Regions from separate parts of the Homo sapiens genome. Here region 1 is linked to region 2. Evidence: promoter capture Hi-C in 16 types of primary human blood cells and fetal thymus (Javierre and others, 2016). All regions are on one chromosome and are shown on one strand. The core of a region is centred on a gene start or on the middle of the fragment in contact, and the rest is flanking DNA. Distances in the headings are between cores, read along the strand shown. Region 1 overlaps LINC02328 (long intergenic non-protein coding RNA 2328). Region 2 holds the start of SEL1L (SEL1L adaptor subunit of SYVN1 ubiquitin ligase).

Region 1 (6,648 bases), core at 3,733-6,232, 4.4 Mb before region 2:
TTCTTTGCAGTTTCAGGTACGTCTTTATAAGCACCATGAAAGCAGACTAATGAGCCTTCCTACTCCCTACTATAGTTAATGCCTTTTCAAACTGCATATATTAGCTCCAGCACATATATTCAAGGATGGCATTCTTCCCCACTTCCCCAATCAGATGACAGACCCCACACCTACCCTCATAGTCCCACAGTTCCCTATACTGTTCTTCCAAAGTACTAATCACAAGTTCTAATGGTATTTGTAAGAGATTATTTGATGAATGCCTACCTCTTCCACTATACTGCAGCTCTCTGAAGGAAGGGCAATATATGTAGTGTTATTAAATGTGCCTCACAAACCTAGTACATTTCCTGGAACCCAGTATGGACTTAATATATATTCATTAAATGACAGAATGATTTTCCCATTGGTGCCATCTCATTTGACACCATAAAATGAGAATTATACCTTACAAGCTGTGACTTCATTGGTATCTCCCTCATGGTTATATTTTTTTAAAAAAAATCAACTTGAGGATTTAATTTAAACATTGCAGCAAACATCCTTTTGGGGATTTTCATAGTTTGGTCATTCATTCACTCATTCATTCCACAAACAATAATTGAGCACAATGGCTTCCTCTCCAGGGCTCTGTTAGTTCTGTCCACTCTCCAATCTCAGCATTCTACATTTTTTTTCAACAAACTAATCCTACCAGCTGAAAATAAGATGCCAGTATGCCAGTCCCTTGTGGTTTTTACTAAAAATTGCCTGCAAAATGAGACACAGTCCTTTCATGATTTTCATTAGAGAGCAAATTGCTTGTGATACCTTTGGCAGAAATTAAATGGATGTATAGAGGCAGTGCCATCTTATTACGCAGTTGAATTTTTGAGAAAAGAATGGGGTTTGTCAGACCCAAAGTTTCGCTGTTGCTTTAAAAAAATGGCATCAATGATCTCTCAAGTTACTGCATGAGGACACCTAGTCTGAGTGTCTAGTGACAGTTTTTACAAAGAATTTTACCCTGTAATGGTTACACCTGCCTTATTATTGTTTCAAGTGGTTGCAAGGAAGTGTTTTCTTCCTCTTATTTCAAAGGAAACAAAAATATTTTAGAGGTTTGGTATTTGGACATTTCTTTTTTCTTCAGTTCAAAATCCTAGCAAAGAGCGATAATTTGTGGTGTGTTGAAATGAAATGCTGCAATTGAAAGTTGCTTTTGCAGTTTCCCCAATGTGTCATGCTGATGCTAACCTTTTCATAAGGCAATGCTTTGAGGAACTTTGATTGTTAAACAGTGCACTCTGAGCTGAAAGGAGAATTTTGGAGGAATGATGGGCAAAACTGTTTACATATATTTATCTAGAGCATTTGGTGAGTATAATGAATCATATTGAAGTACAGCACTTGTTTAAAATGTTACATACTGTAACATGGGATATTAGTATTTAGAATTGCTCACATGGTTTATGTATCTATATTGTTTTTATGATTGGCACTCTTCAAGAAAGGCTTGAAGTAGGCTTTGCCTATTCTTTACCAATCACCAGATACTATTGTTTACAATGTACTTTAGTCTACACAAAAATGGACTTTACACTATACTTTAATCTGTAGAAAGATGATCCATCAAGGCAGGAGTTCTTAGCTTTAACAGCAGAATAACAGCAATGTCGGCCCATAAGAATGTCTTTAGCTCACATTTTGCCACACTTTTATTTCATCACCTGATATTCATGTTAGATCCAGTTGACTTGGTCTTGAGAATGAATCAAAGATACGGGTGCTCTGATTTCCTACACTTCAATGTGAGTAATTCTCATTATATGCTTGATCCTGATACAAATGGCCACTCCTGACTATAAAATTTAGGCTTTAGCATATGTTGTCGTTCTACACGTGTCTTAGCACTAAATATGCAATCAAAATTAAATTCTACTTTCTACTAAGTCAGGTATGAGAACATATTTAGACGGACCAAATAATAGATTCAGAAAAATAATTTAACTGGTTGAATGTCAAATGTCATAATTTCAAAAATCTAGAAATTTGAAATTATCTACTTGTTGACTTAATGGGACTCTCATTCAAGTTTCTGCTCCCATAGAAAGACAATTGATGTTTCTGTGAGCCAAAGCTGAGACTATCAAAATTGCATATAATCAAAAGGAAATACTAGAAATAGGAAAATACTTAACAGGAAAAAGAAGAGGTGCCTTTTATTGCTCATTAGTAGACTCCAAATAACTCAGAAAAGAATCAGCGAGGTTAAAAATAGGCTGTTAGAGAGAATTCTCAAAATATATGCGAAGGGAAAAGTAGTACAAAAAAAGACAGAACATTCAAAAATTGTAATAAAAGAAAAACCAAAAACAAGCTAAAAATAAATTGCAGTATAATTTTAAAAGGCATCATATGCATATTATTTGAAGGAAAAGAAAGAGAATGAAGGAATAAGATTTGAAGTAATAATGACCAAGAAATCTAAAACATTAACGGCAAACACTAAGCCACAAATCAAGGACATTCAAAAAACAAAAAGCAGGAAAAATAAATAAATAAATGCACACACACACACACACACACACACACACACACACACACATACACACTCCTCCAAAGCATATAAAATTCAAACTGCAGAAAACTAAAGATAGGAAGAACAACTTGAAAGTAGCCAGATCTAAAACAAAAACAAAAAACTTACCTATAGAGGAACAATTTTAAGGATAAAAGCAGGCTTATCGAAAATCACACAAGCAAGAAGAGGGTAAAGTGAAATACTTAAAATATTTAAAGAAACTACCAAACTAAAATTCTATAATCAGCAAAATTATCCTTGAAGAGTGAAGAAGAAATAAAGAATTTTATTGGCAGCAGAACTTCCTGCATGAAATGTTAAAAGATGTTCTTCAAACAGAAGGAAATGCTATGTCAGAAATGTGTATCTAGAAAAGATAGGAATAAATAAATAAAGATAAAATAAAATATTTTGTTTTACTTTTTCTTAAATGACCAAAAAAGTAACTATTTGTTTAAAGTAATAATAACAATTTATTTGGTGATTCAAGCATATGAATAAAAGAAATGAATGCTAGCAACATCATAAGGAATGGAAAGAAGAATCAAAAATACTTATTAAAAAATAAGAATAATATGAAGTTTAATCTTAGATAACAGGTGCAGTCAAAACTACAAGTCAATAACAGAAATTTAGCTGAGAAATTTCCAAGTATCTGAAAATTATATAATATACTTCTAAATACCATATGGGTCAAATAAAAAGTCTCAAGAGAACATTTACATAGTTTAAAATAAAGGAAAATTAAAATGCAATTATTAAACTTGAGAATGCAGTGAAAATAGTGCTTCAAAATTCATAGAATTAAATGCATATCTTGGAATAGAGGAAATATCTACAATCAATAACCTTTCTACTATAAGAAACCATAGAAATAAGGGCAACTTAACCTAAAACAAGCAGAATAAAAGAATTAATAAAGATTAGAGCAGAAGTAACAGAAATCAAAAGGAGAGAAATAATAGATAAAAATCAAACAAACCAAAATATTTTTCTTTGCAAAGTTCAGTAAAGTTGACAAAATTATAGCCAGGCTAACCAAGATAAAAAAGAGAAGACAGAAATTATCAATATCAGAAATAAAAGAGTCATTACTACTGAACCCATGGACATGAAAAGAATAAAAAAAAGATTATAATGAACAATGTTATGCTAACATATTTGATAACAAAGCTTAAATAGCTAAACCTCCTGAAAGACAAACTATCAAAATTTATACAAAGGAAAATGAGAATTGTCCTGTATTTATTAAATAAATTCAATCAATATTTCATAACTTTAAAAAAAGAAAGCCTGAGAAACAGATGGTTTCAGTTAATGAATTCTACCAAACACTTAGGAAACAAATAATGCCGTTTCTCCACAACAGAAACAGAAGGGCCACTTCCTAACTTATTACATAATATCAGCATTTCCCTCCTACCAAAAGCAGATAAAGACATTAAGAGAAAAGAAAACTACTGACCAATATCCTTTAAGAACAGAAGCAAAATTTCTCAACTAAATAATAACAAATTGAAGAGAATGTATAAAAACAGTAATACACTACAACCCAGAAAGTTTATTTCAAGTATGCAAGGTTAACTCACATTCAAAAAAATCAACTAATGTAACAGACCCAGAAAAATTATGTGCCTGTATCAATTGAAACGAAAAAATTATGTGACAGAATCCATGCCCATTCAGCATGAAAACACACATCAAAGTAGGAATAGAGAGGGCCTTCCTTAATTTGGTGTTTTAAAATTACAAAACCTCCTACCGCTAGCATCATACTTTGTGGTGGGTGTCTGGAAAATTTTTCCTTAAGATCAGGAACAGACAAGGATGTTTTGTCATTACTTTTCAATTTTGTATTGGAAATACTAATTGATACAAAAGAGTAAGAAAAATAAATAAAAGGTATACAAATTGGAAAAAAAGAAATAAAACTGTCTTAATACACAGATGACATGATTTTCTATGTGGAAAATCAAAGCAACTATGAACAGCAGCAACTTAGAATAAATAGGCAAGTGGCTGGGCTCAGTGGCTCACGCTTGTAATCCCAGCAATTTGGAAGGCCGAGGCAGGTGGATCACCTGAGGTCAGGAGTTCGAGACCAAACTGGCCAACCTGGTGAAATCCCATCTCTGTTAAAAATACAAAAGTTATCCAGGCTTGGTGGCATGCGCCTGTACTCTCAGCTACTCAGGAAGCTGAGGCAAGAGATTTGTTTGAACCCAAAGGCGGAGGCTGCAGTGAGAATTAATAGGCAATTATAGAAGTTCACAAGATGCAAGGTTATTACACAAACGTCAAGTCCATGTTTACATACAAGCAAAGAACAATTGGGATTTATAATTTTTTTTAAAAAGAGGCATTTATTATAGCCTCCCCCAAACTGAAACAATGAAGTATTCACATACAAATATAACCATACATATATATTTAGGATCTATAGACCAAAAAACACAAAACAATGATGAAAAAATCAAAGAGTTGTGTAAATATATGGAGAGATGCCTCGTATTTACAAGTTTAAAGATTCAATATTCCCTTTTTTTTTTTTTCTCTTGAGACAGAGGTTCACTCTGTCACCTAGGCTGGTATGCAATGGCGTGACCTCGGTTCACTGCAACCTCCACTTCCCAGGTTCAAGCGATTCTCCTGCCTCAGCCTCCTGAGTAGCTGGGATTACACGCAGCCACCACCATGCCCAGATAATTTGTATTTTTTTAGTAGAGACAGGGTTTCACCATGTTGGTCAGGCTGGACTCGAACTCCTGACCCCGTGATCTGCCCGCCTCAGCCTCCCGAAGTGTTGAGATTACAGGTGTGAGCTACCACGCCTAGCCAAGATTCAATATTCTTAAGATGACAATTCTTCCAAACTCTCTCAAGTGATTCAATTGAATCTCAAAGAAAATCTTAGTACACTATTTTGGAGATATTGATAAGCTGATTCTAAAGTTTTATTGGGGTTCAGAAAATGACAACCCAAAATATGGCAGTTTGGCATGCTGAGTGCTTTGAAAAAAAAAATGTTGAAAGGCCTCAGAAATAAGCCTCAGGACCATGGCCTCTCTTTAATCTCTGCCCCCCCTTACCCCTTCCTTTATTGAAGCCTCAGGAAAACCCTTCTCTCAAGTTCCCTTATCTGATTAAAAAAGTTCCTCCAGAAGTCATGAAATTGTCTTAAAACACACTTCCTAGAAATTTCAACAGAAAACAGGGAAAGATTAACCACTGGAGAAGAGACTAGATCTGAAGTCATCACCACGCTCAGAGAGATTTTTCATCTAGACTTCTGAGGGAAGCTCCAAGAGATTACCAGGGACACTATCTGCATAATAAGACAAATTTTGTTCATGGTGAACATCTCATCACCTTCTCATAACTTGCCACCACCTCGCCCAGATCTCAAAAGAACTTTGTCTTTTTTTAGGCTAATTCATTTCTCTAAACATCATTGCCTATACTCTAAATTGCCTGCACTCCCATCTCCCTCTCCCCTATGAAGAGTGTTATTTAAGCTGCAGCCATCTGGCCCTTCTTTGAGACTCATATTTTCCATGGCTCCCATGCTTCTGCACATTAATAGAGTTATATGACTTTCTTTTGTTAATCTATCTATTGTCAGTTTTTTTCAGCAGCAAATCCTCAGAGAGCAGAAGAGAAGCTTTCCTTTTGCCTCTATAGGAAAAATTAAAAGGCAGAAGATCCAGAATAACCAACACAATCCTGCAGGAACAGAGGAATAATGTTGAGGATTCACACTATCTTATTTTAAGACTTACTGTAAAGCTACAATGATTAAGACCACATAGCATTGACCTCACCTCACCAAAAAAAAACCACATAGATCAGTGGAACAAAACAGAGAGCCTATAAATAGGCCCAAACATATATTCAAATGAATTTATAACTTCCCATTGGGTTCATCTTGCCCACTGCCTAGACAGGGCCAATTTACCAAGACAGGGGAATTACAATAGAGAAAAAGTAATTCACGCAGAGCCAGCTGTGCAGGAGACCAGAGCTTTATTACTACTCAAATCAGTCTCCCTGAGCATTCAGGGATCAGATGTTTTAAGGACAACTTG
Region 2 (7,434 bases), core at 3,315-5,814:
GGCTGCTCTGGGAGTGTCTATCTTATGTGGTTGAGATAAGGACTGAAATACACCCTGGTCTCCTGCAGTACCCTCAGGCTTACTAGGAGTGGGAAATTCCAGCATGGTAAATTCTAGTCAGACTGGTTTTCTGCTCTCGAACCCTGTTTCCTGTTAAGATGTTTATCAAGACAATACGTGCACAGTGGGACATAGACCCTCATCAGTAATTCTAATTTTGCCTTCGCCTTGTGATCTTTATTGCCCTTTGAAGCATGTGATCCTTGTGACTTACTCCCTGTTCATACACCCCCTCCCCTTTTAAAATCCCTAATAAAAACTTGCTGGTTTTGCAGCTCGGGGTCATCATCATGGTCCTACCAATATGTGATGTCACCCCCAAGAGGCCCAGCTGTAAAATTCCTCTCTTTGTACTCTTTCTCTTTTTCAGACCAGCCAACACTTAGGGAAAATAAAAAAGAACCTATGTTGAAATATTGGGGGCTGGTTCCCCCGATAGAAGGCAGGGGCACTTCTAACAGCATCCAATCTAGAGCAAACCCAACTTCCTTAGTCTCTGACAAATCACCCAATCAAAGCCCAAATTCTAAGATAGGTTCTTTCTAATACCCTCCTACGGAGATACCTTATGGTGTATTTTTTTTCCACACTGCAATGAGTAATAAAGCCAATGTGCTCAACTACAGGAATGTTCCTGTATATTTGTGGAAGGAAGGAAGGACCTGTGAAAATAATGTTCCTAATGCAACATTCACTAATTAAATACATTGCTATCTACTCAAGGGTTAACTGAATTTAATGGGAGCTCTAAGCTGTTTATCTCTACCTTATAAAGTTCACTTCATCGAGTTCTTATTTAAATTTAGTTATAATCCAGTCTCTCCCTGGAACTAGCAGTTAACAAATTTATGAAAATATTGGACCCAAGGATGCCTGTCCAGTTATTTAGGGTAAAAACATATCCTGGCCTTTCCTTTATCTGGTATGAGTCAACACTGCTCAGAGAACACACATGTCCAGAGCAAATGTCACCTCACGATGAAACTTGGTAAACAGCCTGAGGCTCCCTCCCCCCTTTCATCTTCTATCAGCTTCAAACATTAGGTAGATCAAACATACTCCTCCACAATCTATGATCTGCAATCCAAACTTAATGCTCTTAATTATAATCATGGAAACTGGCATGAACACCCAAAACTTATTAATTTGATCACTTTGATCACCTGCCATATGCTGTCCTGAAGTTAGGAGGGATAAGATGAGGTATAAGTCCATTGTTCATTTACTCCAAGAGCTCAGAATATAAATAAGAAGATGCCAGGTTCTATCTCACTATATAATGCAAGAGTTTATATTTTCATTTATGCATGAAAACTTTAATTTACCTCATCTATAGGAAAGAAAGTACATTCTTTTCTAAGCCCTGAAGGGAAAAATATTCTGCTTCTTGCTTCTCCCTAATCCTGCCCTGGCAAATACCTTAATACAAATGCTGACAGTCTTGCCTATTACCAATTCAAATGGAACGCAAAGAAAAGCACAGGAAAGGATATATCCCACTAGAGTTGGTGACAATTGCCCCATTCTCAGGAAAAGTCTCTGGAGGTTGTCTCACCATCCTTAAGTGAAAAGCAAGTTGGATTTATGTCCTCAACACGTTCAGGTTCTCAGCATTTGTTAATTGCTTGATTCATTTCAATGGCATGAGGTTACATCAGTGTCATCTGCATTAAAAGGTGTTTATTACCTACCTCTGTTGAGTGCTATGCTGTGCTGCAATGCAGAGCAAACAGGTTTTCTGCAACTTGGAAATCTCTGACAATGACCCAGAATGCTGATATGGACAGATGGAATAAAGACAGCTGAGCAAATATTGAAGCAGTCTAAGAATTAATAAATAATATTAACATTTTGTACAAGTACATAACCTTAACTGGGAATGCTGGCAGGTAACCTTGAGGAGTGTATGCACAGACTGGATAGGCCATGGAGAATTCACAACCTTTTTTCTAATTAATCTCATGTAATATAGCAGGCTGATAAAATAAATCTGACTTTCCCACAGCATATTCTGAACCACTTTGGAGACTTGGAACTTCCCCAGGAAGTCAGGTCCTATGAGAATTCTCAGAGCACGTCAGCTACTCATTGCTGGCTAAAGGCAAAAGCTCTAGCAGCTCTAAGCCCTTTTCGCATTAAGGGTATAAAACTAATTTCCCTCCTTCGCCTCAACCAAGCAATCAATAAGAAACAATACTATATGTAAAACATCCTACAATGTAGAAAGTGCTTTTATCCTGTGTCTCCATTTTGAATCTCACAACAGACAGGCAAGACATATCTATCAACCAATAAATAATTAACTAGTGCTAGTGGTGGCAAGTCCAGCACTATATACCTATACACAGAATCACATGATCATCTCCAGCCTCAGCATGTTTACAATCTGTTTATAAGGCAAGATTGTGAGTGTTCAATAGATTCTTAGAGAAATGAAGATTAATGAGGACAGATCTGGTTGGAGAAGTGTGATCCAAGACGAAATGTGAATGAAATTGGGAAGGATGCCAGAGTTATGGCTAAGTGAAAGAAGCAAGGGCAGTTGGAGAAAGGGTAGAGGAACCCTTAGGAAGACATGATTGTGTTAATGTGAAATCTGGAAAGTAAAACGGAAGTGGCTATTTGGTCCATGCAGCAGCACCCAGAACAACCCTTAAATATAAGACGTACTCAGTAAAGACAAAACTGAAAAAAGAAGTTGGGGCTTAACTAAGCAGCAAACTTTCCCCAGTTTTAATCAAACAGATAATCACTGGCTCTTCTGTAGAAGGCAGAAGTTTCTTCCCTGGTACTTCCCCAACAGAGTAGAACTGTCAGCACAGTTCCTATTTTGTGAGTAGAATAAGTTCTAATTTTTTTTATTCTGTGAAAAGTGTAGCCATTGAAAATTTTCAATAGGCATATGAAAGCAGTGTTTAAGGAAAATTAATATGGCCATGATATGTGATTCAGGTTAAAGGGAGAATGATGTCAGTGAGTATGGCTGGAACTCAGGTGCATCATCCAGGTGAGAGAAAATGAAAGCCATTAGGGGAGTTTTCAGTGAGGAAGAGAACAGAGGTACATAATAAAATAAAACAATTTAAAAGTTACATAGTTTAAACTGATAGAACTTGATTATCAATAAGATGAAAAAGAAAGGAAAATATACCAGATTTTACTCTATGATTTATAATCAGAGGAACTCAGAGGGAACATTGTTAGTGACAGAAATGGTGATGTAGCTGAAAAGACAAGTTTTTGGAGGAGATAATTCTTTCCTTCATCTCCTCCGATGTGAATGAGAAACAGTGGTTGGTTTTTTACCATCTTCCTGAAAATAAAAGGCTGTATCTCAAAAAACAAAAAACAAAAAACAAAAAAAAAAAGGAAGGAAGACAAATGCCCAGAAGTGTTAAGACACATGGCCAGCAGAGACTTTTCCAAAGTCCTTCACTTGGCTGGACTAGGTTCTAGGCCTTAGAGCTGACTGTGGGTGGATGACAGGGAAAGCAGAATGACACGGTTTGAGAAAAGAAAGGGCAGGCACACCAAGTCACTGCTCTGCTACTCAGTTGGAACATGCCTGGATTTCGTGCTTATTACATAGAGTATTTCCGTGCCTGCGATGCAATCACTATCACCTCTACCTCCACACACGTGAACCTGGTCTCCTGACTTTAGTTAGGAAAGAAGAGAACAATGCAACTCACAAGAGGAGAAGGATGAGGACAAGTGTTTAAAATAATTTTTCAAAGCTGTTGGCACATTTTCTTTATGATTATTGTCTGGTGAACCTAGTGAAAATAAATACTGTATTGAGATAATCTGTGCCGAGCGGATTTATTTCCTTTTGTTTTGTCGGAGAAAGGAGGACAGGTACTGAGTTGCACCCTGGTTTCCGTACTTCACGGTACTGTTTTATCTAAGTTTTAAAAAACACCTCAAATTCAACTAGCTGTGGCATTTTTCTCAGTGCTCTTATCACTATGCCCAATTTAAATTTTTTAAATAAAACAGGAAAAGATGCTAAACACATTACAAGTTCTTAAAATTATTCCTTAATATTTATTTTGGGTCAATTTAAAAAGGCTTGTGAATCCATAGCCTTGAGTTAATATTTAGCCCAGGTGTTAGTTAAATTCTAACTTCAACAGTCACCCGCACTTGTAAATCTTGCCCTACGATGGACTACGTTTCCCAAGAGCACCCCCCGAGTTAATCACATGAAGCGCATTCTGGGAATTGTAGTCTCGGATGAGCCTCTTTCTCCCAGTCTTGGACTCACGCGCTGATTCCGGTTGAACCCAGGGGCTACCAATTAGCTGGGGCCATGTCCGTGAGTCGTGGTCCAACCGAGAAAGCTGGTGTGGGAGCTTCGTACAATGATTGGCCAATGAATGACCCCCGGGGCGGAGCAATGGGGGTGGGCGGGGAGACCATGGTGATTGGACCAGAAGCCCGCGACGGCGGGCGGGGATTGGCTGCGCGCTGGGTCAGGGAAGCCTGGGAAGGGGCGGAGGAAGGAGACTAGAGCAGGAAGAGCAGCGGCGAGGCGGCGGTGGTGGCTGAGTCCGTGGTGGCAGAGGCGAAGGCGACAGCTCTAGGGGTTGGCACCGGCCCCGAGAGGAGGATGCGGGTCCGGATAGGGCTGACGCTGCTGCTGTGTGCGGTGCTGCTGAGCTTGGCCTCGGCGTCCTCGGGTCAGTATCCGCCCCCTCGGGCTGAAGGCCCAGAGCCTCCGCCCCCCAGCCTCTACAGCCGGCGGGGCCGTGGGGACTCCAGGCTCGGGACCCCGTTCTCCCTGGGCACATCTCGCACTGGGCTGTCACTCGCTCTTTGGCTTTGCTTGGCCTGCGCCAAAGGGGCTATTTAGGAAGGTGGAGTGGGGTGGAAAAAGAAGGGGCGGTCACCCTGCCCACACCTCTCTCCCACGTAACAAACTTTGCGCGACTCTTCTCACGAACGCGGAATTGACTCCAAAGGAATGAATCCTGATACAGGAGCCCGAGTGGAGCTTCCTCGACCCTGGGGTAGAGGAAGGGTCTGGTCTAGAACTCTGGGCTTGGGAATTGTAAGTTAAATAATTGACAAACCTGGAGCTGTCACTTTGGGGCAGAGGAGGATCCATCCAGACCAGGATGTTGACAGTAGTTTGCTTAACACCTGAGATGGTCCCTGGTCTGTCTGTTTAAAAACGAAGACTTTTGATCTCATCGTAGCCACTTTTTACTTTTTTGAAACCTTCCTGAGAAAGCGGTGACCTGTCACAGTGTTTCTGAGTTGCCCCATGTTTGTTGACAGTCATTTTATGATGTTTGGGAAAATCTTGGTTCTTATAAGATGCGTTTTATATAGATACAGAAATTTGTGTGCTTTTGAATTGATTTTCCAGTTAGCTAATGTTTATTCTGGTTCTGCTTTTTTCCCCCTTTTTTAATGTTTTAATCTGCCTACATTTGAAAATTTCCATTTTGAGAGTGTTCATGAAAACTTCGTGTTTCTAAGTGTTGATAAATAAAAATTAGTACAGTAAAACTTTGGAATTTTAATCAGTTTCAGTTAACAGGACAGGTGTTCTGTGGCTTGACGTTTTGGGGGGACAACACGGAGTATAAATGTCAGCTTTTTCTTTTTTTAATAAATGTCAGCTTTTTTTTAACAGAAAATTTCCCAGATGGTTATCTGAATCCCCAAATTACCTGTCCTAGTTGTAAATCAATGCCATAACGTCATTCTGCTTCTAAAATAAGAGGCTTAAACCTAAATTCTATCCATGATGTGGTTTGAGATACCATTTCAAAAGCACCAACCCTATGCTAATTACTTTACTGCCAACATCATTCTTTCAGGTCCACTCCCCTCCCTCCAGTAGTAGTGATGGTTTGAGTTAATGACCAGATCTTTAGACTATACTTAACTCTCGAAGCACTTTTAGCAGTTATTTAATATTTGATCAAAAAGCATGAAATGAAGCTGTTGAGCTTAATGAGTAGAGTACCTGCTGGACCATGGACCTCCTGCATCAGAATTCCTCTTATGGGTTTGTTAAACATTGGGTTTTAGGTCTGGAACAGCTCAGGTATACATAGATTAACAATCTCCATGAGGGATTCTTCACACTAAAGAGAACTACAGTAATGAAAGAGCACGGTGTGTATCCCTCTGAATTTAATTGGCAGAGTTTAAAGAAAATTAAAGCATAGGAATTGTGCTGTCTGTCTTTGACTGCATTTTATATACTTAGAGCTCCATGCCAGTGGAAAAGATATTTGAAGATCAACAGTTGGGGCTTTCAGGATGTTGTAATAAAAGACTTAACACTGATATATTAAATCCTTGGGTTGTATTGATGTAGGTAGAGGACTGTATTCAAGAAATGTCTGCTCTGATTTCCATCATAGTTAAAGCTGTGCCACAACATTTCAATGGTAAAGGCAGAAGCCTTAGCCAGAACTAAAACAATGTAGATGTGCATGCTAAAAGGTAATAAAGGCAGTGCTGTGCTCACATGAAGTTCATATATCATAAAACACCTGTGCGGGCCCAGCTCATACCTGTAATCCCAGCACTTTGGGAGGCTGAAGTGGAAGGATCACTTGAGCCCAGGAGTTCAAGACCAACCTGGGCAACATGGCGAAACCCCATCTCTACGTAACTCCAGGTGTGATGGTGCACACGTGTAGTTCCAGCTACTCGGGAGGCTGAGGTGGCAGGATGGAGTGAGCCCCAGGAGGTTGAGGCTGCACTGAGCTGTGATTATGCCACTGCACTCCAGCCTGGACAATAGAGCGAGACCCTGTCTCAAAAAAAAAGAAAAAAAAACAACCCTGTGTTAAATAAAGTTGTGTAAATTAAGCTATGGATTTTCAATTGTGATTTTCATTCACAGGGTTTCGGCCTCAAAGTTTAAAGTTTTACTCCAGTATTAAAATCAAGTTTTTGGTTATAATTTTGTGTTTGAACATTAGTGGTTACCCAGGGCAGGTCGCATCTCTCCAGGTGGAGTATGGTCAGCCAACAAAGAGAATCTTGATTCTATTGCTGTTGATAGCTGTTAGCTAGTATCATGTTTTAGAAGCATGTAAAAATATGATATAGTCACATGCTACATAATGACATTTTGGTCAACAATGAACCCCATGTAAGATGGTGGCCCTGTAAGAATATAATGGAGCTGAAAAATTCCTGTCACCTAGTGACATTGTAGCCATTGGAACATGGTAGCACACTTTTTAAAAAATAAATTTAGTGTAGTTTAAGTGTACAGTGTTTACAATAGTGTATAGTAACATCCTAGGCTTCACATTCACTCACTCACTCACCCACAGCAACTCTTAATCCTGCAAGTTCCATTTATGGTAAGTGCCCTAGACAGGTATATGTTTTGTAATC

What was found. The method cuts DNA at HindIII sites, captures the fragments that hold promoters and counts their contacts. A CHiCAGO score of 5 or more calls a contact.
Region 1: a contact is called between a fragment that was not itself captured here and the fragment with the promoter of SEL1L in region 2, in 2 of 17 cell types (activated CD4 T cells and M0 macrophages). The highest score is 8.6, in activated CD4 T cells.

Annotation. Positions count from the first base shown.
Region 1 is chr14:85,937,966-85,944,613 of GRCh38, reverse strand. The region is part of intron 1 of LINC02328 (long intergenic non-protein coding RNA 2328); the gene reads right to left. Among named protein-coding and RNA genes, the nearest start is that of LINC02328, 6.6 kb to the right of the region's middle. The HindIII fragment of the contact is 2,488 bases long and covers 3,739-6,226 here.
Region 2 is chr14:81,530,983-81,538,416 of GRCh38, reverse strand. It overlaps SEL1L (SEL1L adaptor subunit of SYVN1 ubiquitin ligase), which reads left to right and starts at 4,564. Exons shown (of 21, transcript NM_005065.6): 1 at 4,564-4,742. The coding sequence starts at 4,673. RefSeq lists enhancers at 1-490, 4,277-4,776 and a silencer at 4,441-4,560. The HindIII fragment of the contact is 11,079 bases long and covers 1-7,434 here.